5 separate regions of the Homo sapiens genome follow, and regions 1, 2, 3 and 4 are each linked to region 5. The links are contacts of gene promoters, found by promoter capture Hi-C in blood cells and fetal thymus (Javierre and others, 2016). All regions are on one chromosome and are shown on one strand. The core of a region is centred on a gene start or on the middle of the fragment in contact, and the rest is flanking DNA. Distances in the headings are between cores, read along the strand shown. Region 1 overlaps CARD6 (caspase recruitment domain family member 6). Region 2 overlaps TTC33 (tetratricopeptide repeat domain 33). Region 3 has its middle 110 kb from the start of PTGER4. Region 4 holds the start of C7 (complement C7). Region 5 holds the start of DAB2 (DAB adaptor protein 2).

Region 1 (2,700 bases), core at 200-2,699, 1.4 Mb after region 5:
AAAATACTTTAATAATAACACAATCCAGGGTTTGTTTTTCAAGTAGATGAATTCGTGGATATTTACAGTGCCAAGACCACAAGCTGTATCTTTCACTTAGTATAGCCGTTTTGAAAATACAAGGAAAATAATTTTTAACACATAGATGGCAAATCAGTAGTTTCATTTTTTTGGTGATAAGAATGCCAGCAGCAGCTGTTTTCTGGAGCAATTCCAGTGCTAATTCTTAAATGGTTCAAAGATAACTAGTAGTCCATGAAAAAGCAATTCTTCCAGTTATTTAGCAATTCTGTAAATTACTACTAGGACTAGGTCTAGCTCTTTTTCTAGGAATCTAAAAAAAAATTCAAAATTATTTTAAGGGATGTTAGAGAGGTAGAGGCTCAGATAAAAAGGTGAATGTTAGTGATACCTAATTTAGGACAAGATTTATATGCTTAGAAATTTTTCTTTTATTATTTCTAAAGCACACTATTCCAAATAGAGCCATTTGCTTACTGATTAGAAATTATTTGTGATCAGATTTCATTAGCAATGACCCCAAGAGACGTGAGTCTGTTGTGAGTCACAGTAAGTCCACAAGTAAACACTGTTCATATGATTCAAATTTTTCGTTTTATTCACTTACCCTGTAAGGTTGCTAGGAAGGACTCAAACTTTAAGCAAGACAGTGGTGTGATCTGATTTTTTTTTTTAGTGGAAAAAAGAAAGTTCTGAAAGTTGACATGTTGACATGCAAGTTATATAGGAGGTGTTAGGTATTCCTGTCCTCCAGTGAAATAAGAGGTGGCTGGGCGCTGTGGCTCACACCTGTAATCCCAGCACTTTGGGAGGCCGGGGCAGATGGATCACCTGAGGTCAGGAGTTTGAGACCAGCCTGACCAACATAGTGAAACACTGTCTCTACTAAAAATACAAAAATTAGCTGGGCATCATGGCGCATGCCTGTAATCCCAGCTACTTGGGAGACTGAGGCAGGGGAATCACCTGAACCCGGGAGGTTGAGGTTGCAGTGAGCCCAGATCGTGCCATTGCACTCCAGCCTCGGCAACAAGAGTGAAACTCTGTCTCAAAAAATAAATAAATAAATAAAAGGAGAGGGATGAAGCTTTGAGGCCTCAGGAACTCTAGCTGTTATACAGCTTCTTTTTCTTAATTGGGAAAAACAATTCTTTTCTTTGCAGAAGTTTTAAAACATGAGAATACAGTACCTCCTCAATCTATGGGGGCAAGCAGTAATTCAGAAGATGCTTTTTCTCCTGGAATAAAACAGCCTGAAGCCCCTGAGATCACAGTGTTCTTCAGTGAGAAGGAACACTTGGATTTGGAAACCTCTGAGTTTTTCAGGGACAAGAAAACTAGTTATAGGGAAACAGCTTTGTCTGCCAGGAAGAATGAGAAGGAATATGACACACCAGAAGTCACATTATCATATTCAGTTGAGAAAGTTGGATGTGAAGTTCCAGCAACTATTACATATATAAAAGATGGACAGAGATATGAGGAGCTAGATGATTCTTTATACTTAGGAAAAGAGGAATATCTAGGATCTGTTGACACCCCTGAAGATGCAGAAGCCACTGTGGAAGAGGAGGTTTATGATGACCCAGAGCACGTTGGATATGATGGTGAAGAGGACTTCGAGAATTCAGAAACCACAGAGTTCTCTGGTGAAGAACCAAGTTATGAGGGATCAGAAACCAGCCTTTCATTGGAGGAGGAACAGGAGAAAAGTATAGAAGGTATGGAAATATCTTGTATAGTTAGTTAGGCAACAACTTAATAAGTTAATAAGCTTGCCATGACATAATGGGGATGGGGGATGAAAAAGGGACAGATGTCAGCAGAAAATCAACTACTAAGAAATTCCTCGTGCCTCTCTGACCTGGAATCTCCTCGAGGTAGGTGTTGACTTAAAGGAGCTCCCAGGACCTAGGAAATGATGGACAGCATAAGCAAAAGTAAATATTGATTGTCAGTTTGTAAATTTCTGTAGTTCGTATAAGGAGTTGCCAATCATTAATTTCCCATTATACGTACGAGGAGTTGCTAATCATTAATTTCAGGCTAACCTATTTCTCAGGTTAAACCACTTTAGTTATTTTAGTGCCTTTGTGACCAGAGAGATATGGGGATTATGGGTTTGACTATTTAAGTGAAAACAGTCAGTAAATGGCTAAGATCCCAAAATATTGTTACTTGGCTTGATCCAGTCCACATAATGCCATCTTGATGAGAATTATATTTGTATCTTGAATCTGAATATTTCTTTATTTAAAAAAAATTTGTTTTTAAACAGGGTCTCACTCAGGCTGGAGTGCAGTGGCACAATCATGACTCACCGCAGCCTCTACCTCCCAGGCTCGGGTGATCCTCCTACCTCAGCCTCCTGAGTAGCTAGCATTACAGGTGCCTGCCACCACGCCTGGCTAATTTTGTATTTTGTAAAGATGGGATTTTGCCATGTTGCTCAGGCTGGTCTCGAACTCCTGGGCTCAAGTGATCTGCCCACCTTGGCCACCCAAAATCCTGGGATTACAGGTGTGAGCCACTGCACCTAGCCAAATCTGAATATTTCTTAATGAAAATTCAAAATATGAGAAGTGTTTCATTGGAGTGATATTGCCTGGGAAAACAGACATCACTAAGTTCTGAGTAGAGGATGAAAATGTAGCTACCATCTCACATTAATTTCAAATC
Region 2 (2,700 bases), core at 181-2,680, 1.3 Mb after region 5:
TTGGAACAGACTGAACAGACACAGCCCTACTGCAGCTGTTGGATAGGAAGCATTAAAAGATAAAAACTTGGTTTAAAGTCACTGTGGTTAATAAATGACCAAAGTCTGATTCCGCCAGTTTAAGGACAATCTTAACAGTATGCAACTGAAGTAGCACAAGGAAGGAAGCAAAGGGAATAGTTCCATGGACTACAACAGGGCAGGATGAGATAATGCCCTATACTGAGGTAAAGAACAGCTGGTGATCAAGCTAAATAAGTTAGATAGCACACTCATTTACCAAATAGAAATGTCAATGTGTTTAGCTACTTTACTCCCAATTAGACTTCTAATTTACTGTGGCTTTAAATTTAATGAGCTATATAGTTAACAGCTTATTCACTTTATAAATATTTACTGGGCACCTACCCTGGGACAGGTAGAATTCTAGTAATAAGTACTAAGGATGCAGCACCCAACAAGATATAAAAGGTCCCTACTATTCTTCCAGATCTTACTTTCTAAAGTGTATGCATGTTAGAAGGGGACAGGGAAAGAAAGATAACAAACAGTTAAAATATAAGTGCCGTGATAAAAGACAAATGGAGGAATGTGATAGGGAGTGACCAAGTGGCTATTCGGAATGGGCGGTCAAGAAAGGTCTTCCTAGGAACGCATTCAAGCTGAGACCTGAGTGACAAAACGTGGTCAGACAACTGAAAATCTGGAGAAGGTCCATTCCAGGCAAAGGGAAGAACCTGGGGCAGGACCAAACCATGTTTTGTGGAAAGGAAATAAAACCAGAGGAAAGGAAGTCAGAGGTCAGGGAGGTGGGCCGAAGCCATGATCACAGAGAATACAATAAGCCATAGTTATGCATGTGGATTTAATTGTATGTGTGATGAAGAATCCACAGAGTTTTTATACAACAGTGAGACATGAATTATTGATTTACATTTTTAAAAGATCAGTCAGACCCAGAAGAATAGACAGTAAGGGTACAAAAATGTACACAGGAAGGCTAGATATGAGACAACCAAAGTAATTTAGGTATGAGATAACCCTAGATAAGGATAGAAGTGAAAACAGAAAGAGGAAAAAAGATTTACAACACACTGAAAATGTACAGTTGGCTCAACTTGGACTTGGTATGAGTGAAAAAAAGAAAGAAATCCAGGATAATTTGGGTTACCTGGAAAACAGAGCCTGAGGCCAAAGCTTACTGGCTAAATCTTTATTGAGTGGATAGGATCCCACGCAATCAAGAGTGAGGGAAAAACAGAAGTAAGCCATGAAGAAAGAAGAATAAATACAAGGTCTATGTTAAGCTGGCAACAGCTCCACAAACACAGATGATTGTTGATCTGGAGAGCAAAAGGAAAGGAGCAAGCAAAGATTAAAAAGGAGAGGACATGGAGACAAGGACAAGCATGATAGCATGGTGGTGTGGAAGATGAGAGAGCAGTGTATTTAGGAAGACTGTGGTCACCTGTGCTGAATGATGAGAAGCACAATAAATGACAACAGAGAAGTGATGACTGGATTTGACAACATGGAGGTCACTGATAACCTTTACAAAAGCAGTTTCAGTGGATTCATGGGGACAGAAATATGACTGGATGGTTCATCAAGAAATGGAGTTTGTAGTGCAGTGGGAGCAGAGAAATGGCAGAGCATTTGGAGAGAAGCTTTTTAAATGGATGTTATCAGGGTATGTTTGCATGCCAGCAAGAAGGACCGAGAGAAAAGAAGAAACAGATTATATAAAAATGAGAGGACAATTTCAGAACAACGTTCCTGAGAAGGCACAAGGGGATGGGGTCTAGAGTACAAGTGGAGTGGTGGGCCTTTGATAATTACAATGGAATGATGACAGATCATATAGGCACAAATACAGTAAGGTTGGAAGATGTGCTGGTGAGAAAATAAAGTCATTCTACACTGACTGTATCTATGTTTTTCCACAGAGCATGAGGCAAAACCACTGTCATTAAATATACTGATGTGAGTAATCTGCAGAATGTGGGTCACACAGCAAGATCACCCTCAAATTTACATTAGTAGGTATACTTTCCTAGACAAGAACAAAATGCATGGTAAATTCTAATTTATATTCCTGCTTCATACACATACAACTGATTCTAACAGAAAAATCAGACCAGTTAGCTAGACAGTCAAATATCACCATCTAGTGGCTGAAACTTTAAAAGCCAAGATGTCAAAGTTGGGACTAACACCGTGACTCTTGAGAAGGTATAACCTAGTTTGTAATAATTCTAGAAAAAGCCACTTGAACAAAATAATTTACAAAAATATATATTACTACTACAGGAAATATACCAAGAACATATAAAATCCTAAAATATTATATCTAAAGTACATTCACTTGGTGCTTATTAGGTGCTAGGTAGCATGCTTTTACATGGACTTTGCTCTTTAATCCTCCAAAATTCTATAAGATATGTATCACCATTTGACCTATGAGGTAGAAATTGACAAAAAATAACTACCCAAAGTTTATGCAGATAGAAATGATAAAGTTGGGATTTGAATGGAGGTAATCTGACTTCAAAATCTACACTCTTAACCACTATACTCACTATACCATCTCTATTAAGCACCAAAATTTCTTGGGGGTTGGGTAGAAGAGTAAACCAGATTTTTGTTAAAAAGAATCATGAATACTCTAAGGTAAGACTTCTGAATTTAAAAGCCACTCAA
Region 3 (2,700 bases), core at 44-2,543, 1.1 Mb after region 5:
TTAGGATGGGGCCCAGCACTCTGTTGTAACAAGCCCCCAGGTAATTCTAATGCGCTCTAAAGTTGGAGAACCATTATACTAGATAAATCAAAGCAAACTCGAGGGGAATGAAAGCCCATATGTCCAAGCAGTTAAGAGCAGGCCTGAGGGCAATGATTCTAGTGTGGTAATGTTTCATGTAAATGCACCAAAATGGGAAGTAATCTTTTGTCAGATATGACCTAATTTATATTTCAGAAAATATGGTTCTCTGTTTTTGAAGGCCTATGGACCCCTGTGTTTCCTAAGATCTACCATACAAATGACTGATATTCCTGAAGTAAAAGCTTTGTAATTTAACCTGGAGTCAAGAGTCTTGGATGGAGATCAACACAGATCTTCAGAAGGCACAAGAAGGTCCCATAGGACACACTACAGAATCTAGCGATGGGACTCACAGGGACTGTACCATTTACATTTTCCCTAGGGCTACATAGTCCCTGATTTTCAGTGTCTGCTTCTTTCTTTATGGCTTCCCCCATAGAAGGGTTTTCTACTTCCACTTATCATAGTTTGCCACATGACCCTTCTTGGCCTCAACTCTATAAGATATTAGAGTTCCCATATCTGGAAGTGTGTCTAGCATCATACTCTAAGTGTCTTAGACTTAAAGCTTCTTAGTTTAAATTCTTAAAAGAGAGAATGTGATCGTCCCAATGGTTCATTTAGCTGTGGCCTCCGGTATTAACAAAGCAGAAACAGCAGCAGACCGGAGGCTGAGTATTGACGTTAGAAGAGGTTATGGAACTGGCAAGGAGACAACGTTCAGAAAACCTAACACAGTAGAAATTATCCATTTGGCCCCTGAGAGTTCCATCTAACTTCACGAGTCTCTGGAACAACAGTGTATCCTTTATTTCTGTAAATTCCAAACAAATGGTAGGAAATTCATAGAAAAATGCAACAGCTTGTAAAATATGTTGATTACATATTTTAAAACCTTAATTATACATGCACCCTTCACTCTAGAAATTTAAATCCTAGGGTTTTATCTTAAGAGAAAATTTGGGATGTGCCCAATAAGAAATAAGGAAAAGGAATTCTTGTCACGGTATTGTTTTTCATAGCAAACTTTTTTTACAAAAAGAAATGATCTAAATATCTAGAAATTGGGATTTTTATCAATGGAAGTCATTTTTACTTTTTTTGTTTTTACAAAAAAAATTCATCATTCATCTTTGGTAAACTTTTTTCTCTTCATTAAAAAAAAGTCAGTAAGCCTTAACATTGTTTTAATACTGGCATAAGGAAATTGCAAGCAGATGGCCTCCCACGTTCTGTTTTTCTTGTCTGGGTTACAGTCACTATGATGATCTAGCTGCAGCTGCTGGATGATCTCTTCCAGCTGCAGATTTGATTTGCTCCTACTAGTCCCTAATTGAATTTAGTCGCTTCCCTTCTCTCCTCCACATCAGCAGAGGCCTCCCAATCTTAAAGTCCCAGTCTGCCTCTGTCCCTGTGTCCAAGGGCAGAAAAGTCCATATTTTGGGCTCTGAAGTTCAACTAGATTAAATTTCAGTCATTCCAGTCAATAATCTAAAATAGTTTTTATAATTAATGGCTAACTAGTTCTAGTCTTTGACTTGCTAGGAATTACTTGAGTCTCCATGTCTTCCTATCATCTTAACAGACAAGAGCAGAATGAGTTGGAATGCTAAAAAAAAAAATGAAATTTATCTTTTCTTTAAATACAAGAAAGATCTTGTGTCCAAGAAAGATTACAAAATTACGGTATTAGAGTATAAATAGCTAGAATTAATAGAGTGATTTTCCCTAACCCAGAATCTTTTCCTCTTTGTCAGAATGTTGGATGAAAGGACACAGAGTTGAGAGAATGTGATAATTCTTAACCCATTGCTAAGGGTGTAACCATGAAATTTCTTTACTGTAAAGTTAAAGCTTCGGGTTATTACAAACCCAAAGGAGTTTGTTAAGACCTGGCAACAAAATCAATAAAGGTGAAAGCAATTTACATCACCCTGGATGATCGCAATTTTTTTAATAGTCCCAAAGTCACCATATTTGCCATTAGTCTATATCTGTAACATGGACATCTGAGGACAATGTGACTCATATGGCTGAGGATCTCCAAAATACAATAAAATCTAAACTCACTCCTAAGAAGAGTAGGAGGAGCATGAAAAGTACTGTGTGTCTCGTTAGTATGGCAAATGAAAGTATACAATTTTTGTGACTACTTAGCTCACCATGTCATCGACCCCAGACACACACTGCCCCTGAGTGTCTTCCTCTGTAAAATAACGACACCTCGGCATGGCTAATAAATAAAAGTTTGGAGCCATCCTGGTTGAAGAGGGCAGGATAGAAACAGTATTCTGGTATTCAGTCTCCCCTTTGGTTTCCTCCATTTCTTCCTTGTACCCAAAATGGCCACCTTGGCAGAACCCAAAGGTTCTACAGCACACAGAGTGACCACCAACAAGCCATGCAGTTTCTAAGGCCCCTCCCTCCTATAACAGCCTTCACTTCTATATGCCTGGGAGGTGTTTATAAAAATTGACACTGCTTACCTAGCTTCATATACCGGCACAGCACACAGCAGGTGCTTCATAATGTTGAGTAAATTGAATTTCAACTAGTACCTGTTTGCTCAATGTTCTAATAAAACTTTCAGAAGAGCAAATATTCTAGGTCCTAGAT
Region 4 (2,700 bases), core at 146-2,645, 1.5 Mb after region 5:
CACTAAAGCTTTGAACAAAAGATGCGGAAGCTTTGTCTCTGGAAACCACCATTAATTTATGAGGGGAGGATAGGGGTTGTCTTTATTATTCCAGTGCTTTGGATATAGGAAGAAAAAGTCATTAAAGCTAGAAAATCTTCACTAATGGAATGTTTACTTATAAAATTATTCTTAACTCAAATTTTCTTTCCCGCTTAACATTTATTCTACCTCACTCATAATGCACTAGCAGCTAGTGTTAGAATATTTGGTCCAACAATACAAATAAAACTGTAGCTCAATTTTTTTTTTTTTTTTTTTTTTGAGATGGAATCTCACTCTGTCTCCCAGGCTGGAGTGCAGTGGTGCGATCTCAGCTCACTGCAACCTCCGCCTCCTGGGTTCAAGTGATTCTTCTCTCTCAGCCTCCTGAGTAGCTGGGACTACAAGTGCATGCTACCATGCCTGGCTAATTTTTTTGTGTTTTTAGTAGAGACGGGGTTTCACTGTATTGTCCAGGCTGGTCTCGAACTCCTGACCTCTTGGTCCGCTCGCCTTGGCCTCCCAAAGTGCTGGGATTACAGGCATGAGCCACCGCGCCTGGCCAACTGTAGCTCAGTTTCAATAGGAAATCTAAAATCTTGCAAAATAAGCAGCATTTTATTAAATGTATGAAGGTGATGTTGGGGACTTGCTAGAATCAATGCAAAGCTATGGGAAAATAAAGACCTGGTAGAATAAGACAAGATAAAAAGCAAAGGAGAGAAAATGGATGTGGATAATGACCCTGAGAAGAACTTTCCAACACAGTGATCTGATTATCAAAGGATTAAGTGAAGTTCTTGAGAAAATTAGTGATGTCCTCAAATATGTTTACAAAAATTGATATTCTTTCTGATTATTCTGTGAAAGTTAAGCATGAAGGGATGACTATTGGGTTGTATTAGGCTGTACTTTGGGGAAAAATTCTACTCCAGAACATTCTATTTAGATTTTGAGTGACAGAACTGCATTTAAATATTTTCTTTCATAAAATATTTAATCTCAAAGTCTGGCATATAACACCTTTTAAGAGAATCATGAAAACATCCACTTAGTTTAGTAGATTGAAACAAGAAGGAGGCTCATCCCTTGCCTTACAGAGTCTCCTTTGGTTGAAAATCACTTAAACATTGAACTGAGAACATTTGCTGTGTTTCCTGATTTATAGATATGTTTCTAAGAAACATATCTATAACTTCCAAACAGTCCCAGCTGGCTGTAGCTAAGGCTGTGTAATTGATAAGATGCATCTGGTTTCAAGGCACAGATTAAGTACAAGGTCAGGCTCTTGCTGTCGTTGGAGAATCCGGTTGGGGTAGGAGCTAAATCTCAGGACCACTTGCTCTATATATGAGTGCCAAGATAATCTAGAGCAGGGAGAGGCAGAGAGGCAGGCAGCCTGCTGGGCTCTTCCTGCTGTTGAAAACTTACCCGGCCCTTACAGAGGAAATCTTCCTCCTCTCTTCTGCCCTGAATGTTTTCCCAAACATGAAGGTAAGACAATAAATTCATTACTTTTGTAAATGAAGCTATCTTTTCAAATGAACGGGGGTAATATAAATGTAATTTAAACGAAGAGGTGTAATACCTAACTGAAAGACATCAAATAAATAGAAGGCCAGAGGAAAATACAGAAGAAAAAGACCTGGGGGTGATGTTTAGAAATCCTTATTTAAACATATTTAACAGTTCAGCCAAAGTGAATTCCTTTTTCTTATCTTGTGGTGAAATTATAGGTCCAGAGGTCTGGGAATCAGGAATTGGAGACAATGTTTATGAAAGTCCCGATAAAGTCATAAAGAAATACAATAGTACTATTGTTATTTCTTGGGAAAAACTTTCCTCTGGTGTATTTTTTTTTTTTTTTTTTGCTTGTTTGGATTAGGAGCCATGCAGTAGGGTCCTGCGATTTATCTAAGAGCTAATAGAAAAGCAAATTTGCAGGCTTGGAACTTGAGAATTTGAAATCCTGGATGAAAGAGTCAGCATTGTGAGAATAGAAGATATGAGTAGATGGAATAAAACTAAAGGTCTACCAAGTATACATGTTGGCCCAATGCAAAAAGGCCAAATATTAAAAAACAAAACAAAACACAACCAAAAAGCTATTCAACAAAAGATAAGACCAAAGATAGAAATCGCTATCATAGACTAAATCTCTGGAATGCAAAAATAAGTTGAGATTGCTATTCAAATTTTATTATTGTAAATTTTGGTATTTAAACTTTAAAAATGTTGCATTGTAAGACTGTAGGAATAATTTCACAGATCTGTCAGTGGCTAGATTGCTTCCATAGTCACTGTATTGTCCATTGGGGCACCGAATCCAAGCTCGCTCATTATTGGGGTTAGAGGAGGAGCAAGATATGGATCTTGATTAAGCCATGCCTTCTGTGAAATTAAATAATTAAAATTAAACACAAATAACAAAGTTAATTTGTTTAAAGTTATGATGGGCAGTCATAAAAAAGAATGAAATCATGTCCTTTGCAGCAACATGGAGGCAGATAGAGGTCATTATCCTAAGAAAATTAACGCAGGAACAGACAATCAAATACCCCATGTTCTTAATTTTTAAGTGGGAGCTAAATATTGGGTACTCATGGGCATAAAGATGGCAACACTAGACACTGCACTCCAGCCTGGGCAATAAGGTGAGACTCTCTCTCAAAAAAAAAA
Region 5 (2,700 bases), core at 95-2,594:
CAAAGGCATTTTTTGTAGATGCCTGCTTTCCACTCCCATTACTTCTGTTTGCATTAGTTATATCTTACCTCCTTCTCCCCCATGCCCCTGCTTTGCCTGACTAAGGCCAGAAATTTTTTCATGAAGTCACTTTATAGAGCAATAGCAACATTTACTATTCGTGAAGTCGCCCCTCCATAATTTTTAAGTCTTTCCATGTGTCTGGAAGCTTGTTTCTGCTCTTCTCGGTTTACAGAGCGGCTCTCTTCCTTCCAAACAAAAACTAAAAAGAAAGGGGAAAAGGTGGGGGGTGGTTGGGGTGGAGATAACACCCAGATTCCTTAAGTGTTTTTAATCCAGTTGAATTTCCCTTTGGACTCAGCTCCCTGCTGAAACTGTCTGCGGACCAGAATTCCAGGCTCAGAATTAAGTCAAGAGGGAAAGACAGCAGAAACAAATAACAGAGTCAGCTCTATGCTATGAAAACCGCTATGTTGACTGAGGCTCCACGGTTTTAACCCATTCATTTTTCCCCCCTTTTTTAGAATTCTTACTTAATCTTTTTAACCAGCTTACAACAGGCAGGCAAGCACCATATAAACCATGCTCCCTGCGCCGGGGGATATAAAACAAGTTTCTTAAGTCCCTTGGGTAGATACTTCCTTAGGAATGCCGGTGTAAGACAAAAGTTCACATTTTAATGCCATATGTTGTCAGTCACCAGGAAAAAGCTCCTTATGGGCACAAGCCAGGTCCCCAGCCTTTGTCACACAGCAAAAATAAACACCCTTCGAGGAGTTAATTAGGCGGTCAGCAGCCACCTCAGTGTCCTAGGAGGGCTGCCCGCAGACCTTTTACACACACACACACACACACACACACACACACACACACACACACACACACACGACACAAAAGGAGGCGTTTGTTAAATGTCACAAGCTGGGCATCTGGAGTCGGATTCGAAAGGTAAATACATTCCGCGGAAGCATTCCTCAGATGTCAGGCCACAAAACTGCTGGTTTCCCCAAGCACAGGGTCTCATTTCTAAGATTCCCCACAGCCCAAGGTCTGTACTCAAAGAAGGGTAGCGGGGGGCGGGGGGGTGAGAGAGGGGGAGCAAAGGAGAGAAGGAGATCTTTAAAAAAAAAATGGAGCCAGAGGGAAGAAGGGTTTCGAAGCTACTCACCGGCTAGCTATTGCCTCCGTGAAGCGAGCATGACTTCCCCGCGCCCGGAGCCTCCAGGCTACAGCGCAGCGGATGCGGCGGGCCTCGCTTAAATAGCCGCCGGCCGGGAGCTTCGGAGCCGCGCGGCCACTCCCGGCGAGAGATATGGTTCTAATCAGATGCTGGCAGCTGAGGACTCCCCAGGAATGTGCCAGGATGTTTTTGCTGCCTGGGCTTGGTAACTCCCCCTCAACGTGTCTGCAGAGTCTTCCAAACTTAACTGTTTATTAACTCGCGCTGCAGCGGCGCAGAGGACCCCGCTCCCCTGAGCTCCGCGAGCCCCACCAGCTGGGGGCGATCGCAGGGACCCAGCGACGGGAGGGGAAATGTGTTCGGGGAGAAGTCAAAAGCCCCAGACCGACGCGGGCGGGGGGCGGGTGCAAATAAGGACAGGAAAGGGAAGCTCTGGAGGAAAGGGGTGGGATCCACCGAGCTTCGTTTCACAGATCCGTTCCCTGGATTGCCACTGCGAGTGATGTGGCACACGGAGTCATCCTAACCAACCCGTTGGGGCCCTTTGAACAAAGGACTGCCTTTACTCCTGACTTTTCTGACAAGGGACAACGGTTCCTGCGCAGATCTGCAGTTTCTAAAGTTGATCGCGCGATTGGATTTGCTCCCCTTAGAAGAAATTAGTGTCTCCCTCATTGCAGATGCAAATGCGCTTAAGTTAGTGGGAAATCTATGTGTGCATATGTGAAACATACTGTATTTACCTATGAAATATAATCATATATATGGATATAAAAATAATATTCTCTCTGAAATCGATATGAGCAAAACATGTTCACGTCTATGTAGCCTATCAAATAAGTTATAATTCTGATACAATCAGAGATTCTATACAGGCTTCCCTTACAGTGTATATACACCTATATGTAGACACATAACATGACTTTATCTGCATGAATTTCCATAGCACTTCCTATAACTCTAGGAAAAACATGAACTGCAAGAAATAAAATATTTAAAAATGTTAACGTAGAGTGCTGAGCGGTAGAAGGTACTCCGCAGCAAATCCTAATGAGTGTTAACAAGCTGAGAATTCATTTTCTCCATATTTTAAAATCAAGAATTATTGTAAAACATCCACAGAAGCTCTGTTGCTTTTTGGAGAATTCTGAAATTACTCTTGTGAAAGACGTGTCTCTTTTCCCTTTTTTTAAGAAAAAAATTTAATTGTTTAAAGTCAGAGGCAGCACGTAGTAAATGTGAAAATGCTAAATTGTATCTCGGATGGGAGGGGGTTATTGATTTTATCGAGTAAGCAACACAGTGGATTTGCATTTTACCTCTGGAAACTGAGGGTTCAAATAGGGCTCGTGGGACATCAAGGATATATTTTGTGGTCCGTGCCTAGCCTCGACTGCAAAGCCACTGTGTAATTTGGGGTAGCTCAATGTGAGTGGCAATGTCTGCTCTCAAGTAGGTCAGGCTTGAAACAACCGTTGTTCGGGGAGACTGAGGGGTGCAGAGCAGCACAGCTGGCCCAG

Evidence for each region. The method cuts DNA at HindIII sites, captures the fragments that hold promoters and counts their contacts. A CHiCAGO score of 5 or more calls a contact.
Region 1: a fragment that was not itself captured here is called in contact with the fragment with the promoter of DAB2 in region 5 in 1 of 17 cell types (M0 macrophages); the score reaches 5.5 in M0 macrophages.
Region 2: a contact is called between a fragment that was not itself captured here and the fragment with the promoter of DAB2 in region 5, in 2 of 17 cell types (M1 macrophages and megakaryocytes). The highest score is 6.8, in M1 macrophages.
Region 3: a fragment that was not itself captured here is called in contact with the fragment with the promoter of DAB2 in region 5 in 1 of 17 cell types (M1 macrophages); the score reaches 5.8 in M1 macrophages.
Region 4: a contact is called between the fragment with the promoter of C7 here and the fragment with the promoter of DAB2 in region 5, in 1 of 17 cell types (total B cells). The highest score is 5.9, in total B cells.

Annotation. Positions count from the first base shown.
Region 1 is chr5:40,841,968-40,844,667 of GRCh38, forward strand. CARD6 (caspase recruitment domain family member 6) reads left to right here. Exons shown (of 3, transcript NM_032587.4): 2 at 1,185-1,742. Among named protein-coding and RNA genes, the nearest start is that of CARD6, 2.0 kb to the left of the region's middle. The HindIII fragment of the contact is 687 bases long and covers 1,107-1,793 here.
Region 2 is chr5:40,734,314-40,737,013 of GRCh38, forward strand. All of the region lies in intron 2 of TTC33 (tetratricopeptide repeat domain 33), which reads right to left. It also overlaps a transcript of PTGER4 not described here. Among named protein-coding and RNA genes, the nearest start is that of TTC33, 20 kb to the right of the region's middle. The HindIII fragment of the contact is 470 bases long and covers 1,196-1,665 here.
Region 3 is chr5:40,571,769-40,574,468 of GRCh38, forward strand. No RefSeq gene overlaps it. Among named protein-coding and RNA genes, the nearest start is that of PTGER4, 110 kb to the right of the region's middle. The HindIII fragment of the contact is 1,286 bases long and covers 651-1,936 here.
Region 4 is chr5:40,908,102-40,910,801 of GRCh38, forward strand. It overlaps C7 (complement C7), which reads left to right and starts at 1,396. Exons shown (of 18, transcript NM_000587.4): 1 at 1,396-1,515. The coding sequence starts at 1,510. The HindIII fragment of the contact is 6,323 bases long and covers 29-2,700 here.
Region 5 is chr5:39,423,636-39,426,335 of GRCh38, forward strand. DAB2 (DAB adaptor protein 2) reads right to left here and starts at 1,345. Exons shown (of 15, transcript NM_001343.4): 1 at 1,169-1,345. The HindIII fragment of the contact is 7,828 bases long and covers 207-2,700 here.